2 separate regions of the Homo sapiens genome follow, and region 2 is linked to region 1. The links are contacts of gene promoters, found by promoter capture Hi-C in human tissues and cell types (Jung and others, 2019). All regions are on one chromosome and are shown on one strand. Each heading gives the region's core, a stretch centred on a gene start or on the middle of the fragment in contact. The rest is flanking DNA. Distances are from core to core; before and after follow the strand shown. Region 1 holds the start of ZBP1 (Z-DNA binding protein 1). Region 2 overlaps VAPB (VAMP associated protein B and C).

What was found. Contacts are between HindIII fragments. The study calls those that stand out against the background at their distance.
Region 2: a fragment that was not itself captured here is called in contact with the fragment with the promoter of ZBP1 in region 1 in 1 of the 25 tissues and cell types used here (spleen).

What each region holds. Positions count from the first base shown.
Region 1 is chr20:57,618,888-57,622,055 of GRCh38, reverse strand. It overlaps ZBP1 (Z-DNA binding protein 1), which reads left to right and starts at 1,630. Exons shown (of 8, transcript NM_030776.3): 1 at 1,630-1,794. The coding sequence starts at 1,761. RefSeq lists enhancers at 1,381-1,670, 1,801-1,850, 2,931-3,040. The HindIII fragment of the contact is 12,502 bases long and covers 1-3,168 here.
Region 2 is chr20:58,413,023-58,416,243 of GRCh38, reverse strand. The region is part of intron 1 of VAPB (VAMP associated protein B and C); the gene reads right to left. Among named protein-coding and RNA genes, the nearest start is that of VAPB, 25 kb to the right of the region's middle. RefSeq lists enhancers at 1,566-2,355, 2,356-3,147. The HindIII fragment of the contact is 4,477 bases long and covers 1-3,221 here.

The DNA of each region.
Region 1 (3,168 bases), core at 381-2,880:
GGGGGGCCTTGTACACAGCATTCACCTCTGTGGGCCTCAGTTCCTCCTTCTGTGATCTGGAAGAGAACAGTGGCTCTGAGTTTTTCTGAGGTCACTGGCCCTTTTGAGAATTATGTAAGCAACGGGTCCTCTCCCAGAAGCATTCCTGTGAGGTGACCACGGTGCCCGTGACTACGGATGGCTCTGGGGCTCTAGCCCGACAGCTGGGCTGTATCAGCCCCTTAGGTCCTCACCTCGACCCCATGCGCTAGGTCCTTTGATTAAGTCCTTTTACACATGGGGAAACTGAGGCACAGAGGGGTTAAATAATTTGTCCGAGGTCACACAGCCGGTAAATGGCGGAGCCAGGTTTGGACCCAAGCATGCTGACCCAGGCTTGCATTCCGAACCACTCGGCTGCTGACCCCAGGCATCTGACTCTGGAATTAATAAGCAAGTTTTATGATGAGGCGGGGAACTCCACGCCATCTGTGCACTAAGGGTGATTCACCAGTGACTTCTGGGTGTTATAGATCAGGAAACACAATTGGGGAATGGACAGGACAAGCTCTGTCATGGACTCTGTGTGGCCTTGGACAAGTGATCTTGCCTTTCTAGCCTCAGTTTCCCCCCTGAGAAGAAGACAGAACTGGCCCCTACCCTGTAGATGGGTTGGAGGAGCACTTGAGATTGGAAAACGCATAATAGGTGTTCATTAAAGAGGCTCACATGGATACACACAAGAACAATCTCAGGGCCTTCACGCACCTAAATGTTCTGCCCCTAGTGTGGGCAAGGGAAACAAACTGGAAGAAGACAAGAAAAGCCACTGAGAGCTGGGGACGGTGCCTCTGTAGCACCTGTGAGTCCCCGAGGAGGAAGTACTACAGGAACCAGCGGGGCCGGGCGTGGGGGCTTGCGGCTGGAATCCCAGCACTGTGGGAGGCCAAGGCAGGCAGATCGCTTGAGCCCAGGAGTTTGAGACCAGCCTGGGCAACACGATGAAACCCCATCTCTACAGAAAATACAAAAATTAGCCGGGCATGGTGGTCTAGGCCTGTGGTCCCAGCTACTAGGGAGGCTGAGAGGTGGGAGGATCGCTGGAGTCCGGAAGGTCGAGGCTGCCGTGAGCCGTGATCACGCCACTGCACTCCAGCCTGGATGACAGAAACCCTGTCTCAAAAACAAACAAAAACACAGAAACCAGATAACCAGCCCCAGCCCCTCACATCATCAGAGTGATGCCACGCCCTGGCATCCCCCTCCACGTGGTGCATGCTCTTTTTTTTATTTTTATTTTCTTCAGTTCTCTGATGCTGATTCAGAAAATAAAAATGTAGAGGTCCAGGTGGGCTGTGCCTGGAACGGGGAAGGTGAGGGAAGTCCTCTGTCTCAAAGGCCTCTTCGGAGGACGCTCTGGTCTTGCCAAGTTTACAGCTCCTCCCTGTCAACATCAAGTCAGGTCCCCAACTCTGTCTTGCTCATCCACCTGGCTTCCACTTTTTTTTTCTTTCAAAAGACGAACAGAGAAGTTTCATTTTCTTTTTCTCCTGAAACCGAATCTGGCCGGCCTGGCTAGGCATCTATTTCCGGGCTGTAAGCAGCTGACACCTGCCCAGTGGAAGCTGGCATCCCTCCCCTTGTGGGTTCAGAGCTGCAAGAAGCACCAGGCTCGGCCACTTCAGAAGCCCCAGCCTCGACCTAGCCCACCCTCTCAGGGCCACAGTGCAGAAGCCTGCACACCTGCCAAGTCTCTCCGACTCCTTGCAGCTGCTGTCAGCATGGCCCAGGCTCCTGCTGACCCGGGCAGAGAAGGTACAGTACTTCTTCCTTCCAAGGACCAGCGGTAGCTCCCGGGGTGAGATTTCTACTTCTCTTTCCTCCTGTTTCGCTTGGTCCAGATCATGATGACAATAGCAGTATCCTAAAGAATAGTAGACCAGCTGGGCGTGGTGGCTCACGCCTGTAATCCCAGCACTTTGGGAGGCGAGGTAGGTGGACTGTTTAAGCTCAGGAGTTTGACACTAGCCTGGCCAACATGGCGAAACCCCATCTCTACTAAAATTACAAAAATTAACCGGGCATGGTGGCGCATGCCTGTGATCCCAGCTACTCGGGATGCTGAGGCTGGAGAATCGCTTGAACCCGGGAGGTGGAAGTTGTAGTGAGCTGAGATGTCGCCATTGCACTCCAGACTGGGTGACAGAGTGAGATTCCATCTCAGAAAAAAAAAAAAAAAATAGAAAGGGACAGCATAGCCATCCCCCTTTGACAGCTGACTGTGCCCCAGGCACCTCGAAACATGCTTTCCAAGCATTTCCTGATGGCCTGCAGGGACAAGTGCCATGTCATTCCCATTTTATAGATAACTGAGGCCCTGAGAGGTGAAATGACACTCTCAGGGTAACACAGCTGGCGAACGCTGGTGTTAGCGTCTGAACACCCATGTCACAGTCATATCGAGAACAAAGCGGTTTGCTTTGATGAGATACATGTGTGCCTTTGTTCCCCCTTGTTGCATCCTTTCCTCAACTAACATTTCATTCATTTTATTCCTGGAAGAGTTGCAATGAAAGCCAATAGTGTATCGAGTAATTGCTGTTCTCTAGGGTCTCCACTAAGCGCTGTGGACTGTAGGTGAAGTGTGGTTTTGCGGTTTGGGGGATGTGTTTGTTTTGTTTTTAATCCTCACCACAATCTTTGAAGTAGTTATTACTGTCTCCATTTCACAGAAGAGGAACCTGAAGCCGGAGGGGAGGTCACACAGCTAGTAGTTGGCAGGGCTAGGAGCTCAAACCCAGGAAATCAGCCATCAGAATTTTAAAAAACCAACACAGAGTGTGCCCCGGGAGGGCTAATGTCAGGGTGTGGCCCAGGAGCCGGGCTGACCGCGGAGGTCCTGTGGAGCTTCCTCTTCGGGGACTCACGGGTGCTGACGCAGGTTCCGGACTCAGCCCTCGCTGGCTTTTCTTGTCTTCCTCCCCAGTTGATTTTCCTTTTGTGACCAAATTGTTGCCTACACCTGCTCCATTTTACAATTTCCCATTTTCAGACACAGTAGCCTGGGACTCAGCAGTCGAGGCCAGCCCAGGGCCAGTGCTTGTCCTGCATCCACACCTCTGACCCCCATCTCCTCTGGGGTGTGTGGAGCCGAGGCAGTGGCTCCCTAAGGTCAGCCTTCCAGAATCA
Region 2 (3,221 bases), core at 633-3,132, 790 kb before region 1:
TCTTAATGGTGCTTCAACTTATATAAACCACATAAAAGGAAGTCTAAACTATTAAAAGACAAGCAATATTTGTAATAATAAACAGGATAAAATAAACATCCCAGATTTCTCCCTCCACAATCCTGGGTCTTTACATGCTTGGGATTTCTTGGCCTTTCACAGGCTTTTATTTGTAAAAATCTGGAGGGAACTATACTGAAAATATATGCAATGAAACAACATCACTGGTAAAATAACAAAGTCCCGTGGGTAAAAATCAAGATATTTGTAAGAACAGGCCAACCTTCCTCTCCCTACTCTGGGCAATTTGCTCCAAGAATTTTATTGAAAATAAATTATATTCTATTTGAGTAATTATAGAAAATAAACCATGTTAGTGTTCTCCTTTTCCCCTGTATTAATGGATTAGCATACACAAAACCTTCAATAAAAATGATGTAAAAGCTTATGAGCATCATTCAGACTTTTACTAGTCACTTTCATTTCATAAAACTGCCATTTCCATTAAAGCATTATGTAAAAAATGGGATTTTACTATACCAACATGCATATTTACCACCAATGAATTTAAACACTGCTTATAAAGTACAGTCAATTTTACAAATGAAATCTCCTTCTAAACTTAGAATTTTTCCTTTTTAGAGATAAAAAAAAATGATGTGTCTCTAGAACCACAGCATACACTTCAAATCATTTTTAATCTTCTATTCCTTATTTCAGATAATGTCTGTAACAAAACCAGGAACTAAGCATCTAAAATGTGAAATGGGAGGTTAAAAAAGTGAAAAAACATGAATTTGGGAGAAACTGGCAATACTCTTTGAAACTGTTACTCTTTTTAATAATGTAAACAATGCCCTTTATGTCCTAGATTATGCATATACTCATCTGTGAACATTTGTGTGAGTTTGCTGAAGATGCTTATGAAACAGCACTAATGAACTGAAAATGAATTCCTTGACATGCTGTAAAAGGTATTTAGATAAAGCTAAACACAGTATAATTTATTTCCTCTACCTTCCCCCAGGACCCACTGTGCTTGGATTTTTGTCATTTTAAATTGTGTTTAAGGCAATAAGAGGTAAGAGTAAGACAGTAAGAGGGGCTAGAATTGATCTGTTTTACAAGGCAAATACAGAGTGCCTGCGATTGCAGGCTCGCGCCGCCACGCCTGACTGGTTTTGGTGGAGACGGGGTTTCGCTGTGTTGGCCAGGCCGGTCTCCAGCCCCTAACCGCAAGTGATCCGCCGGCCTCGGCCTCCCGACGTGCCGGGATTGCAGGCGGAGTCTCGTTCACTCAGTGCTCGGTGGTGCCCAGGCTGGAGTGCAGTGGCGTGATCTCGGCTCGCTACAACCTCCACCTCCCAGCCGCCTGCCTTGGCCTCCCAGAGTGCTGAGATTGCAGCCTCTGCCCGGCCGCCACCCCGTCTGGGAAGTGGGGAGCGTCTCTGCCTGGCCACCCATCGTCTGGGATGTGGGGAGCCCCTCTGCCTGGCTGCCCAGTCTGGGAGGTGAGGAGCGTCTCCGACCGGCCGCCATCCCATCTAGGAGGTGAGGAGCGCCTCTTTCCGGCCGCCATCACATCTAGGAAGTGAGGAGCGTCTCTGCCCGGCCGCCCATCGTCTGAGATGTGGGGAGCGCCTCTGCCCCGCCGCCCCGTCTGGGATGTGAGGAGCGCCTCTGCCCGGCCACGACCCCGTCTGGGAGGTGAGGAGCATCTCTGCCCCACCGCCCCGTCTGAGAGGTGAGGAGACCCTCTGCCCGGCAACCGCCCCGTCTGAGGAGTGGGGAGACCCTCCGCCCGGCGGCTGCCCCGTCTGAGGGGTGGGGAGCCTCTCCGCCCGGCGGCCACCCCGTCTGGGAGGTGGGGGGCGTCTCCGCCCGGCGGCCGCCCCGTCCGGGAGGGAGGTGGGGGGGGTCAGCCCCCCGCCAGGCCAGCAGCCCCATCCGGGAGGGAGGTGGGGGGGTCAGCCCCACGCCCCGCCAGCCGCCCCGTCCAGGAGGGAGGTTGGGGGGTCAGCCCCCCGCCCGGCCAGCCGCCCCGTCAGGGAGGGAGGTGGGGGGTCAGCCCCCCGCCCGGCCAGCCGCCCCGTCCGGGAGGGAGGTCGGGGCGTCAGCCTCCCGCCCGGCCAGCCGCCCCGTCCGGGAGGTGAGGGGCGCCTCTGCCTGGCCGCCCCTACTGGGAAGTGAGGAGCCCCTCTGCCAGGCCAGCCGCCCTATCTGGGAGGGAGGTGGCGGGGTCAGCCCCCCGCCCGGCCAGCTGCCCCGTCCGGGAGGGAGGTGGGGAGGTCAGCCCCCCACCCGGCCAGCCGCCCCATCCGGGAGGTGAGGGGCGCCTCTGCCCGGCCGCCCCTACTGGGAAGTGAGGAGCCCCTCTGCCAGGCCAGCCGCCCTATCTGGGAGGGAGGTGGCGGGGTCAGCCCCCCGCCCGGCCAGCTGCCCCGTCCGGGAGGGAGGTGGGGAGGTCAGCCCCCCGCCCGGCCAGCGGCCCCACCCGGGAGGTGACGGGCGCCTCTGCCCGGCCGCCCCTACTGGGAAGTGAGGAGCCCCTCTGCCTGGCCACCACCCCGTCTGGGAGGTGTGCCCAACAGCTCATTGAGAACGGGCCAGGATGACAATGGCGGCTTTGTGGAATAGAAAGGCGGGAAAGGTGGGGAAAAGATTGAGAAATCGGATGGTTGCCATGTCTGTGTAGAAAGAAGTAGACATGGGAGACTTTTCATTTTGTTCTGTACTAAGAAAACTTCTGCCTTGGGATCCTGTTGATCGGTGACCTTACCCCCAACCCTGTGCTCTCTGAAACATGTGCTGTGTCCACTCAGGGTTAAATGGATTAAGGGCGGTGCAAGATGTGCTTTGTTAAACAGATGCTTGAAGGCAGCATGCTCGTTAAGAGTCATCACCAGTCCCTAATCTCAAGTACCCAGGGACACAAACACTGCGGAAGGCCGCAGGGTCCTCTGCCTAGGAAAACCAGAGACCTTTGTTCACTTGTTTATCTGCTGACCTTCCCTCCACTATTGTCCTATGACCCTGCCAAATCCCCCTCTGTGAGAAACACCCAAGAATTATCAATAAAAAATAAATTAAAAAAAAAAAAAAAAGAAGGCAAATACAATACCAGCAAAAACTTGCATACCATTAAAAGTGAAAGAAGAAATAGTTGCTTTTTACTCTTAATTACAAAAATTGGGCCTTAAGATGTATAAAGTTCTGGTTTG